2 separate regions of the Homo sapiens genome follow, and region 1 is linked to region 2. Evidence: promoter capture Hi-C in 16 types of primary human blood cells and fetal thymus (Javierre and others, 2016). All regions are on one chromosome and are shown on one strand. Each heading gives the region's core, a stretch centred on a gene start or on the middle of the fragment in contact. The rest is flanking DNA. Distances are from core to core; before and after follow the strand shown. Region 1 has its middle 300 kb from the start of C9orf72. Region 2 holds the start of IFNK (interferon kappa).

What was found. Contacts are between HindIII fragments. The CHiCAGO score rates a contact against its expected background, and 5 or more counts as called.
Region 1: a contact is called between a fragment that was not itself captured here and the fragment with the promoter of IFNK in region 2, in 1 of 17 cell types (neutrophils). The highest score is 6.8, in neutrophils.

Annotation. Positions count from the first base shown.
Region 1 is chr9:27,865,907-27,872,807 of GRCh38, forward strand. No RefSeq gene overlaps it. Among named protein-coding and RNA genes, the nearest start is that of C9orf72, 300 kb to the left of the region's middle. The HindIII fragment of the contact is 7,603 bases long and covers 1-5,915 here.
Region 2 is chr9:27,521,563-27,528,038 of GRCh38, forward strand. IFNK (interferon kappa) reads left to right here and starts at 2,728. Exons shown (of 2, transcript NM_020124.3): 1 at 2,728-3,399; 2 at 4,445-4,936. The coding sequence starts at 2,775. The coding sequence ends at 3,398. The region is part of intron 1 of MOB3B (MOB kinase activator 3B); the gene reads right to left. The HindIII fragment of the contact is 1,828 bases long and covers 2,204-4,031 here.

The DNA of each region.
Region 1 (6,901 bases), core at 864-3,363, 340 kb after region 2:
GTGAATATATGTTCATATTTTAGTGTGAGCTGCGTCAAACATTTTTCAGAAGTGGGAACATGTAAACTGTACTTTGAAAAAGAGTAAATGCCTCAGGCTAACAAAATAGGATATAAACATTCAAAATATATATAAGAAGCCGTTCTCTAGTTCGGACTTAATGTTATTTTTTACAGCAAGCTCTGACTAGTTCTTGAATAGTGGGTTTATATTTAACAGCAAATGGGTAAACCACAATTTGGTTTACATAGTCCTAAGTTTTAGTCTAAGCAAGGCTACTTGCAGAAGTGAATGTAAAGGGAAGCCTGGCACAGCAGGACCTGTTATCAGAGAAGTGCCTGGGCCATGGGCTGAGAAGACACCTTAAGGAGGCTGTTAGAGATAACTAAATGGAAGGGAGACCAGCATGGTCCCTTTCCCCAGAGCTCTGTTAGAGAACGATGGGAGAAGTTGTCTGGGGAAGGGACTCCTCTAGGAACTATCCCTAATGGAAGAAGAACTTATTGTTATGAATAATGTTGCTGTAGCTATTTTAATGCTAATATTGCCATATATATGGGGACCCAAAAGGAAATGGTTTCTTAGGTGAGATTAGTTATACTACGATATCACAGATCTTAGGAGGAAAAGAAAATGAGGATTTCTTTCACTTTAATATCTTGTTTTTCTCTTGATTGCATGTCCCTTCAATCCGTCAGCCTTTGCTTAAATTCTGTTTTAATCTTACAAATTCTTCTGGGTTTGCCTAGCAGAGGTGTAGTTTATTCCTATTATCCTGGTATGATTAAGAACAGCATCCCCTTTCACTCTCAAATTTGGATGATAAATTATATATGCACCTCAGTCACGAGGTAAAAGGAGTGGTTTGTAACTCTCTCCCCACACAGAAAGAGATCTAAGATAGAGTGCATGTATATGAAAGCACTGCGTAGGAACCAGTCTGCTGTTCAGTGGATCAAGGGATGAAGAAAGGAAAAGACAAGATGGAGGTGCTTTGGTCCACAGAGCTGGATAAAAGCAGGAGGGCAGGAGCCCACCCCCAGGGGGAGCAAAAGCAGGCTGACTGAGGGATAGGTCCTGGCTAAACAGAGCAGCAGGAGGGCCTGGATGATGAGGTGAGGCCTCCTGAGCGCTCTTTTGTCCGCAGAGTTTTGTTTTTCCTTTTGGTGACTGACTTCCTTGCCATTGCAGTAAGACATAAACTCACAAAAATTACACATATCAGCAAGTTGTAGAGGTTTAAGAAATCTTACAGAATTGCCATGACCCTTAGACTTGCAGTTTTTTGTAGACCTGGATCCCTTGAAGTCCTCTTGAATTTTTGTTCTTATCTCTTATTTCTTAAGGTGGACCTCACCTGATTTCTCTCTTTCAGATCCCACCCTTTCTATGACACATTGATTCGTTCCTCCTGATAGCATACTTCCCTGCTACAATGACCTTAGAAGATAATTAGTCCTGAGTCATTGACATGAGCATGAATTAGTCCCATTAAGTGCCCACTTTTATCTTAGGGAACACCAGATGTAGTGCACCCAATCCCAGTGAATCCTGGTATAGCTCTTCCTGATTTCCCACTTTAGTTGCAAAGCATAATGAATCACTCTAACTGGGGCACTTTAAGCTGGAACGTTGAGAAATGCCAAAGACCTTAAGGAAACTTGCAGGTATCGAATCACGTGCTTAACGGTGAAGATTAGGGAAAAGCAGACTTCAAGAATTGCCTAGACAGATATTTACTTTGATACTCATCACATTCATTTATTCTTTTATCATGAATTCAACAGATTCATTGAGTACTTATTATGTCTAGCACTAATGTTGAGTGTTGGGGACACAAAGTCAGATATAGTTTTTAACCTTAAGTAGGTCACAGTCAAGAGAGGGTAGCAGAACAAAAAGATTTGTTATAGTATCATATGATAAGTGTTTCAAATAAAGGTATACATAAAATGCTATCAAAAGGGAAAGGGGGTATTTAGATAAGTTTTCAATGCTTCAGAGAATGACTGTATGTGGAGATTTTTATCCCTGTTATATTCATGAAAGACTCTGATTGAAGCCTTACCACATTTAATTGCTGTGTAATTTGTGTTTTGTAATACTGACAACTGACACTGCTCAAAATCAAGGTTCTGGCAGGCTGTTATGACTCCCCAGATCTGATTCTGTAACTCTGAAAAAGAAGTAGTATAATTCTATTCTGATCTGATATGCTATTATTAAATACAATATGGGTGTCCCATGAACACTTCCCTGTTTTTAAGACAAATTTATATAAGGAACAACAAGTCTACCTGGTTTATAGATAAATTCATGCAGAAACTTAAGGCAGAGGTTTTCTGACATTCAGTATGAGCTCACATTTCTGGTATTAAAGAGAGAAAGGAGACGTTGAGGGATGGAATTAATGGAACCAGTACAGCAAGTTGAGTTATCTCTAAGAATTTACAACTCCACCTCAAGCAAATTTTAGAGTGTGCTCTCTGAATTTGCCCAATTGTGATACTTTGATTGAAACAAAATTGAGTTGTTAGTCAGTTAAAATGGAGACCTAGTACTTCAGAGCAGTTGGCTGCATTTCAGAAGGAAGGAGAGGAAGAACATATTCAGAGACATTTACCTGGGGAAAGTTGTGTTTATCTAATAGTTTAGTTATTAATTGTTGGAAGCCCAAAATCTTTGGATCTAAGGGCATTTTTTCCCTCATGAAATCACCAGAATTTTTAATAAAGATATTTAAGTATGTAGCATTTTGCCTGCGAGGATTGGTTGTTATCTGTGCCTAATTGAGAAAATTTCTAAACTGAAATGACTTACTAATTTAATAATCACAAATAAGGGAGTTTGTTTCAGATTTTACCTTCAAGACATCCTTGGGGATAGATGACTCAGGCATCCATAAAGAAGTAATAGTAAGTTGGTTAACACATTCACTAAACAAAGGGAGCCTCCTGTTATAGGCAGCACTCTTATTGTGAAGTTCTTCTATATGGGAAAAGAAAAGGAGGACATTCATTCACATAACTAATGTTATTGAAACAAACCATATGTGCCACGATCTGCATTCAAAACGCTGTAATAAAACTGATTAGGTCATGCTGTTTATCTAGAAAGATATTACAGCCTGGTGGGAAGTCAGAACTAGAACCAAAATATACTGCAATATCTTAAGTGCCCTCAGAAGGGCCAAAAAGAATACAATGAGGCTCAGAGGATTGAACTACTAATTTGAGGTTATGAAGTAGGTTCCCCAAGGAGTTGGCCTTTAAAGGAGATAGTAGAGGAAGGGAAGACTCTAAGCAGAGGAAGCATCAGAGAGAGCGATAGCCTGGCCTGCTGAGTTGCCTTATAATGGTGACAACTGTGGCTTCAGCAGAGATGATGGTGGAGGGTAAGACAGTGGCAGCTCTTGTGTACCAAGCTAAGGAGTTGGGCCTTCATCCTGTATATATAACAAATGCCACTGTTTCCTTCTTTAAATATAGTGATTGAAAAGGAGGTGCTCTTTAGGGTACAATCAGGAGTGGTTTCATTCCAAATATGTCCTCTAAATTGCTCCATAAGCTGAGAAAATTTCATAGCTTTTTGTCACTTTCAGTATAAATAAAACTCTTTAGAAAGACCAACGTGCTATGGGTCAAAATTCCAAATTCTCATTCAACTAAGGACATCTTCCCTTCACCACAGCCAAAACCTGACCTGGCTACAGAAGGAGGAGTGGGGAGTGGCATGGTCTCTGAGCCGGTACTAGGATGAGTCCCCCGCCCCCTTAAATTTTGCTCCCCAGATGCCTCACTCGCTTCACCCTAATCTCTGCTCTACAAGTTGTTTTAATTTTTCTCCCGTCTCCCGCACTCCCTTCTCCTTTTCACTATGCCTGTTACTTCAGATTTTGAAGGAAATATGGGTAAAGGAGCAACAGAGAGGAGAAGTGCCTTTTCAGTTGGCTGGTGGTGTTTGTTTTCTTGATGGTTAACACCTTTTGTTGTAGCAGACATTCAAATGCTCTTCATGGCCTTTGGAGGCCTCTGACCTGGGAAATTGGCAATTTCCTTAGGTATGTTATGCATTCTCCAGCTGACACCTTTGGGCTCCTCCTCAGTCCGTGCCAATTATATAACGCACACACAGAAGTGGATTTACCCTGAAGCTAATGACGCTTCAGCTTCAGGGCCCCTCACCTGCACAGGCTCCTACCAAGGTCCTAGGAAGGCCCCTACCAGTGTGTCTGTGCAGTCATATGCTTTTGTAAAATTTATAAGGATAAGCTATTTTAACACAGTTAAGTCTGAAGTCTCTTTCCTTTCCAATTTTTCCTTTGAAATAATTCTCCTTATGTTTGGTGAACTTAGAGTGTGATGGGGAATTTTGGGAAGGTGATTTGAGGATCCATTAAATTAGGATTTGGTGGGATACATTTGTGTGGTTCCAAAGTCACAAGATTTTGCTATGGATTCCAGAAATATTCCTATCACTCACTGTCATAAAAAGGTATAGGGGATAAAGGTTTTTATTTGTATTTTTTGCTTTTGCTTCTGTATTTTTTTTGAGATGTAATCTGACTCTGTCACCCAGGCTAGAGTGCAGTGGTGCAATCATGACTCATGCGTCCTCGACCTCCCTGGGTTCAGGTGATCCTCCCGCCTCAGTCTCTGATTAGCTGGGACTACAGGCATGTGTCACCCTGCCTGGCTAATTTTTTTTGTATTTTTGTAGAGATGGGGTGTCAGCATGTTGCCCAGGCTGGTCTTGAACTCCTGGGCTCACGTGATCTGCAATTACAGGCATGAGCCACTGTGCCTGGCCTAGGACAAAGGTTTTATTGACATAAAGTGTCCTACGGCATCTGGCCTCAGAAGTATGTGGGTAATGAAGAAGAAATAAGGTCTAAAACCTATGAGGCTCAGAGCTAGTCTGTGAAAAATTCTTTCAAATATTACAAATCAGACCTGATAAAAACTGGTCAGAGTTTCCTAAATTTGATAACAATCCAGAAAGTTTATATGGCATCACCAAAATAAGATTTAAAGAAAAAAGAAACTTTCTAAACTATGAGAAACCAAAAAAAATTGATTCAACCATACCCAATCAAAGACTAAATGATCTTAAAATTTTCTCTACTATCATTGTCACATGAAGCAGGTATCAAAAATATGAAGCCAAAAATTAGGGGTAAAACTATTACGAAGAAGTGTCAGACAATTAATTATTAAAAATGTTACATTATTGTGGGGATTTGGGTGTTTCTGGCATTTGTCAGCTTTTAAAAATTTGTATTTTGTTATCTTTTTTCATTCTAAAGCAGTATTTGCTTTTGTGATGTAAAAGTATCAGAAAATTTTTTATGTGTTGAAGAATCATATGTACTTCAGGCCCACAAAACCTAGATTCACTCTTTAAAAAAAAAAAAAAATTCAGCATTTATTTCAAGTTTAGGGAGTACACATGCAAGTTTGTTACTTGGGTTTATTGTGTGATGCTGAGGTTTTGGAGTATGACTGAACCCATCACTCAGGTACTGAGCATAGTACCCAATCATTGGTTTTTCAACCCTCGCCCCCTCCCTTCCTTCCCCCTCTAGTAGTCCCTAGCTTCTATTGCTGACATCTTTATGATGATGAGTACCCAGTGTTTAGCTCCCACTTGGGAGCTAAGCGAGAACATGTGGTATTTGGTTTTCTGTTCATGCATTAAATCACTGAGGATAATGGTCTCCAGCTGCATCCAGGTTGCTGCAAAGGATATATTTCATTCTTTGTTACGATTGCATAGTATTCCACGAGGTATATGTACCACATTTTCTTTATCCAGTCCACCACTGATAGGCATCTAGGTTGACTCCATGTCTTGGCTATTAGAGTCATCCTTTTCAATGGGTGCATCTTTTCAGGTAGGCATCTTCTTGAACAGTAAGCTTTCAAGATGATTTGAGCTTGCTGACTTTCCATGATGTCAGCTGGGTCACAGATATGTTAGCATCCCTGCCTTGCCAAACTCTGGAAAGGTGAGTTGCTTCAAAGACCACATTCTCACTTTCTTCAGAGAGCCAGGCCAATGAGTGTATGTGCTCTCTCAGCAAACCTCCAGCCAGCATGGGAAGACAGCAGCATACTCTCTGGCAAGGTCTCCTCTACCCTATTCCACCCTGATAAACACAGTGTTGCTTTTGAGGCTTCTTTCACTTACCTTGAGGCAGAGAAGGGCAAAGGGTGGGAGATGCCTTAGACTCATCTTTGCAGGTGAATACTTAAATCCCTTCAATTAAATTTGTGCTGATTATTCTTCTCAATGATTCTCTAGCTTTCAATTATGTGTACAGTGGATATGCATGCTGAACAAAGGTCTCATAACTGGTTTCACTTTCTCTGGGTAAGTCCTCTAGGGCAGCAGTCCCCAACCTTTTTGGCACCAGGGACTGTGGAAGACAATTTTTCCATGGACCAGGGTGTGGGGGAGGTATGGTTTGGGGATGAAACTGTTCCACCTCAGATCATCAGGCATTAGATTTTCCTAAGGAGCTCGCACCTAGCTCGCATACACAGTTCACAATAGTGTTTGTGCTCCTATGAGAAGCAAATGCCACTGCTGATCTGGCAGAACTCAGGTGGCGGTAATGCTGGCTCTCCTGCCACTCACCTCCTGCTGTGTGGCCTGGTTCCTAACAGGCCACAAACTGGCACTGGTCTGCAGCCTAGGGGTTGGGGACCCATGCTCTAGTGTATCTAGCACCTCTTGTTAGAGAAAGAGGACAATTGTTATCCATTGGCCTCAGCTGCAATTTCAAAAGAAGCACATTTTGGCATAACCACTTTTGTCCAAACATGTAGTCCTACTTTTTTAATTTTTAGCTTTGGTGGGTACATAGTAGATGTATATATTTATGGGTTACATGAGGTAT
Region 2 (6,476 bases), core at 1,478-3,977:
GCATCGTAAAAGCAAAATGGGGAACAAGCAGTTCTAATTGGAACAGTTCAAGAAGTTTTAGGTAGAGAAGTTATATGAGGTATGTAAAAAGCCATGGCCCTCAGAGAGGCTTTGCACTTTATAGAATGTGTGTGTGTGTGTGTGTGTAATTATAAGTATATATACATGTATAAACATGGCTGCAAGAATAGTATATTCCCACATACTGTGTGTTATTCATATCAACTGATTGGAACTGAGCCTTAGGGAGAATCCACATTTTCTTTCAAAATACTCTAGAGTAGAAATGTTTAAACAAATAAAATAGTATTGATCCCATTTCAGATGTATAATAATTTTTCCTTTTTTAATGTATCTTCTTTTAAAAACAGCCTTCTCTTATTAAATAAGAAATACTTGGCCAGGTACAGTGGCTCACGCCTGTAATCCCAGCACTTTGGGAGGCCGAGGCGGTCGGATCATGAGGTCAGGAGATCGAGACCGTCGTCGCCAACATGGTGAAACCCTGTCTCTACTAAAATACAAAAAAATTAACGAGACATGGTGACGCGTGCCTGTAATCCCAGCTACTTGTGAGGCTGAGGCAGGAGAATCGCTTGAACCCGGGAGGCGGAGGTTGCAGTGAGCCGAGATCGCGCCACTGCACTCCAGCCTGGAGACAGAGCAAGACCCCGTCTCACAAAAAAAAAAAAAAAAAAAAAAAAGAAAAGAAAGAAAGAAAGAAAAAGAAATACTTGCTCACCACAGAAAACTTAAAAAATCCAGGTAAATAAAAATATAAAAATAAAAACCACCCATTATTCTTCCAGTTAGAGATAGTGACTCAAAATTTTTGCATATATATCAAGACATTTTTTCATATATATATATATATATATATATATGCATATGTCTATATTTAACAAAAGTGGTATCAGCCTCTATATGCAAATATAAGCTTGTTTTTTAAACTACAAAGTGTATCTATCCAAGTGACCAAATATATTCCCACACATAATTTTTAGTGCTTACATATATGTTTTCTACTGATGGCTTACTTAACTAAGTATTTATTGCTGAACATTAAAATTGTTTTCCATTTTTTGCTGTGACAAACTTCCTTACAGCTAAGTCTTTAAGGGCATCATCATTATTTCTGGGGAATCAGTTCCTAGAGGATCAATCGCTGAGTCAAATATTATGTACATTTTTAAGGCTTTTGATCCATATCACCACTTTCCTCTCTAGGAAGGTTGTGTCAATTTATAACGCTATATAAAAGGGCTTGTTTTCTTAATGTTTTCCAAATTTGGTCAGCCCAAGAAATCTGCCCATGAAATAAGAATTTATGTAGATGGAACAAATAGAATAATATATATATATATATTTTTTTCCGTAAGAAACCTTTCCTAAAAGCCAGGATTTTAAGAAATCCCACTTACCCACAATTAGCCTTTGGTGCAGTCAACTGATTTAGACAAGAACTTTTTAAGCCAACTTTTCAATCAAAGTCTGCCATGTTTGTGGAACTGTGGCTATTTACCATTTTACAATGACTTAATTGCAAATTAATGTATATCTTTTTTTTCTTGAGAAGATATAATAAGCTACCTTTTTAAAATGACAATCCATTTTATTTTCCTGGAGAAAAGAATCCATTTGCTTTAACCATAATCAGAGGAAGGTTATTTGGTCAAACAAAGTAAAAACCATAAACAATAGATAGCCATCATTACCACAGTAACATTGGTCCAGCTAGGAATTCACTTAGCTAAATGGGTGACTTCCTACTCACATACCTCCTCAGTGCACAACAAACACAGGAGCAAACAAAAGCCTTTACAGAATCCAGAACCACCAGGCAAGAAGATATAATAATCAAGCAATCAAGCAAAAGTTTAAAAATACTGCCTAAACTGCACCAAAAAAAAAAAAGAAAAGAAAAGAAAAGAAAATGATACTACAAGAGAGAAGTTAATGAGGCAGAAAGATATTCTCAAATATAAAACCCCCTCCAGGACTTTTAAGAAAGGTATCAGAGGCATATGGAAGGCTAAGTCCAGGATGGATTTAACTGAAGAAAAGGATATTTAGAGATTATCAACATTTTCTAATGCAACAGAAAACCAAGCCAACTTAGTCTCCTACTTAGTAAGTGCCAGCTCTATTCTTCATCTTTTTGGAGATCCAGAAAAATCAAAAAGAGAAAATATCCAAATATAGAAGCTTAATTTAACAAAATTGGAAAAACCTAAACTATACTGTGCTCTGGTGACCTAGCAATCAAATAATCACAGTCATTTGGTCAATGTCTATGATTAACTCAATGAGACAGGATGTTTGGCTATAGCACCAGGTACAAAAAATATATTTTCATGAAGGATCACTCCCTCTTATGTAATAGATTTGGGTGAGTGAGTGAGTGAGTGAGTGCATGGACTCACAGCTTTTGGCTTTCTGAAATACCCTGCATCAGTCTTGTTATGATGATTCCTTAGTGCTGGGATGGATCATCCAGGCATTTAAGGTAACACGATGGTAATTCTTTGCTCATTTTTCAGGGAAAAAAAAAAGTTATCACTTCCAAAGTCGGCATAGTCACCCGAAGTAAAAAAAAAAAAAAAAAAAAAGCCTCAGAGGCAAAGGAAAGGGGCCGCAACCTTGGTTAACTGTGAAATGACGAATGAGAAAACTCCTCCTGCTGAAGATATTCAGGTATATAAAGGCACATGAAGGAAAACTCAAAACATCATTGTCATATACACATCTTCTGGATTTTTTAGCTTGCAAAAAAAATGAGCACCAAACCTGATATGATTCAAAAGTGTTTGTGGCTTGAGATCCTTATGGGTATATTCATTGCTGGCACCCTATCCCTGGACTGTAACTTACTGAACGTTCACCTGAGAAGAGTCACCTGGCAAAATCTGAGACATCTGAGTAGTATGAGCAATTCATTTCCTGTAGAATGTCTACGAGAAAACATAGCTTTTGAGTTGCCCCAAGAGTTTCTGCAATACACCCAACCTATGAAGAGGGACATCAAGAAGGCCTTCTATGAAATGTCCCTACAGGCCTTCAACATCTTCAGCCAACACACCTTCAAATATTGGAAAGAGAGACACCTCAAACAAATCCAAATAGGACTTGATCAGCAAGCAGAGTACCTGAACCAATGCTTGGAGGAAGACAAGAATGAAAATGAAGACATGAAAGAAATGAAAGAGAATGAGATGAAACCCTCAGAAGCCAGGGTCCCCCAGCTGAGCAGCCTGGAACTGAGGAGATATTTCCACAGGATAGACAATTTCCTGAAAGAAAAGAAATACAGTGACTGTGCCTGGGAGATTGTCCGAGTGGAAATCAGAAGATGTTTGTATTACTTTTACAAATTTACAGCTCTATTCAGGAGGAAATAAGGTATATTTTTGGAATTAAAATTCCTTTTCCCTCCGAAATCTCTTTCTCCTTCTCCTCCTCCAACTTCTTTTTAAGGATTGTTGTGCTGTCCTGTAAGCCTGTCCTCAGTTGGACTGGTAGCCTCGGAACATCAGGGACACTCACCTCTCTAAGGAGAGGTAATGCCAACCATCCTCAGGGTGACCAAGAGTCTCCTTAGAAAGTCTTTAAGACATTTTTAAAGGAATAAGATTCCCTCTCCGTCTTCTTCTATTCTCTCTTGCTCTTTTCTGTGGCCATTTTGAAAGAGCTTTGCTATATATACCACCTGTGGACTTCACCAAGACAATGGCTAGAGGATAGGGAGCAGAGAATGTTGCAAAATGGTAACATTTCAATGACTTAACTGTTTTGCTGCCAAGGTTGCTTATCCTATGAAAATTCAGCACATTAAAAGAGCTTATACATGCTCCCTAGAGTCAATACTCTTGCATTTTCCCCCTCCTGCTCGGGGGGAAAAAGGTTGACATTTCTGGCCCATTTCCTTCTCAGCTTGGTTTGTTTGAATTGATGCTTGTGGAATAGTATTTCATTACTTTAAGAGTGAAGATCCATAGTGAAATTGGATGGATGGTTGAATTAGACGACCATTAAGCTTTCATTTAACCTTTGAGAGTCTGTGATTCTAATGTAGCACACTCTTCATTCCTGATGTATATTGTTTGATTCCTACATCTAAAGGCATGGAAAATGCTGTGGAAAAGTATGGTACAGAATCTGTCTTTTACTGTTTTTCATGTGCCTGAAATAAAATGTCCAGAGTCATAATATGGAACAATTTTACATTAGATTTTCCTAGTTAGAAGACTACATTCTGTGAGTTAATTTAACTAGCTATTCCAATAATACATAATACTTTAATATCTTTTATCTTTTTAAAAGTTACTTTGCAGCCAGACTACCTAGATTATTTACTTTTCTAGCACGGCCCTTCATCTATATTAATTCACCACCTAGCTGACATGGATTTTCTCTTCCTCTCGCACCTCTATCTACCCCATTTCAGAATCATCTACCTTCAAGCAAGAATTAACAGAGATTGTGGCTACGCAAATGCACCAAAAAAGGGTGAAATATATCTGAAATGTACCTGGTTCTGCCCTTGGAAGCCATTTCCTGCTCATGCCACTAACAGCATGCTGCCAAACTGTTCAGATTCAAGATTATTCCAAGCGCAGGGCCCAAATGTTATAGCCAAAGAAAGTCTTATGATAAAAGTGAGGCAAATTTCAGCCAAGAAGTTAGAAGAGATGTTTAAAAGAACAAGAACAAATTGTGGATCATGGTATATGCAGGCTATCAGCAGAAGGATCAGACAATAAAATGAGTTAGTGCAAACCATTTAGTAAAAATAACTATCAGCAGAGTTGTTCCAGATTAAAAATAGTACTACAAGCTTGTAAAGGAGTTAGGACATGCAAGCTACTGAGCATAAAATATATACTTGCTATTTTTCATGACTTTCTCTAATAAAGTCTTTGCCTGTTCTCTCTAATAACTTTACTGGAATGAGGTCAATTACTTTAGTCATTTATGGTTGCAGTCCTGCCAAGTGTTTGCTATCCTGGAGGAAAGAGAATGGCTGAGAAAGCCGAGCTGAGCTTTCAGTTAATATACATTTTCTGAATGTGTGGCAGGGGTAGAAGTCAGAACAGTATGCTTTTTTAAAGATCACATCTAATCAAAAGAAAAAGGATAACATCTCCACTGGAAAAAAGGCAAGGGCACAAACTGACATCATCACAAAGGAAGAAATACTACAGACAATGTGAAAAATGTTTAATCTAACTTGATTTTTAAATGCAAAATAAGATGACAAGATACTCCCATCAGTATGACAGAAAAGAAAAAGAATGACAATATAAAATGTGAGTGGAGTGTAAGGTATAGGAGCCTTTGTGCATTACTGGGAGGAAAGTAAACTGGGACATGTTTTCTACAGGGAAATATGGCAATCTTCAATATCCTAAAGAACGCATCAGCCCCTGTGACCTAGGTATCACGTCTTCCGAAATTTATTCCAAGGAAATAGGTTTATGATATCTCCCCCTTTTACATTCATTTTCACCATTCGATATTTTCTATTTTTTCCTATAGTGATTTTTTTGGGAAGATTTTTAATTCTAAAAGAAACTGTACAAGCTTAACTTCCACTATAATTACCCTGTTTTCCTTAGCGGGGTAGGCCAAGACAAGAAATGCTCTTTTATTTTGTTAATGATGCCTTTGGGTACTTCTTGAGTAACTTTGGTCTTTTTTGTTGCTTCTGGGTTGCTGCTGCTAAATTTCAAAGGAATCCTTCCTTGGGGATCATTTTCATAATGAAATGTTTGTAAAGTGCCTTGCAGTACTTCAAAGATGTTGCTTTTTTTTCTTTTCCTGGTTCCACCGTTGGGAAGGTAAAGAGATATAATACCCAGAAATCACTAGAGAAAGTGCTCTATGTGTCGCATTCCTGGCTTAGCAGTCTCACTTCTTTTATGTTAAATGGAAACTCAAAAGTTCTGTTGAGTTCGCAAAGGGAAAACTCTCAGAGCTGTGCAGAGCCAAGCTTCTGGTATCCACTGACAATGTCTGAGTGGGTACATAGATCATAATGTTCCTACAGAAGCCTCTTTCTTCCCCTGGGTTGAGGAGGAATCAAAAGTGTAATTGAGCTTCCTTGGAAGAGGGACTCATTGGGGATCCCACAGGAAAAGCTGGCAACAGCAAGTCAACTGCAAGGCTATGGGGTAGCATAGGTTCTAACAGGTGCACAGTCTCAGTCAGCCTCCCCTCAGAGGCAAGACAACTCGCTGGGCACCATCTGGGGACCCTGACTTCTCAGAGTAGCTACTTTGCTTTTGCCCCAGTTCTTTAATCAATAATCCACACTAAGAATGAACACAATGTGTAAGCATCTGACTTGTGCAGGGAAACAGGGCCGCCTGCAACCCAACAAGCGCACCCACAGGGGAACTCGGGACCATCCTAAGCCACTTGTTCTCTGGGACGTGGAAGCAGGAACTGTGCTCTAGCCGTATCTGTGTTGCGTCGTC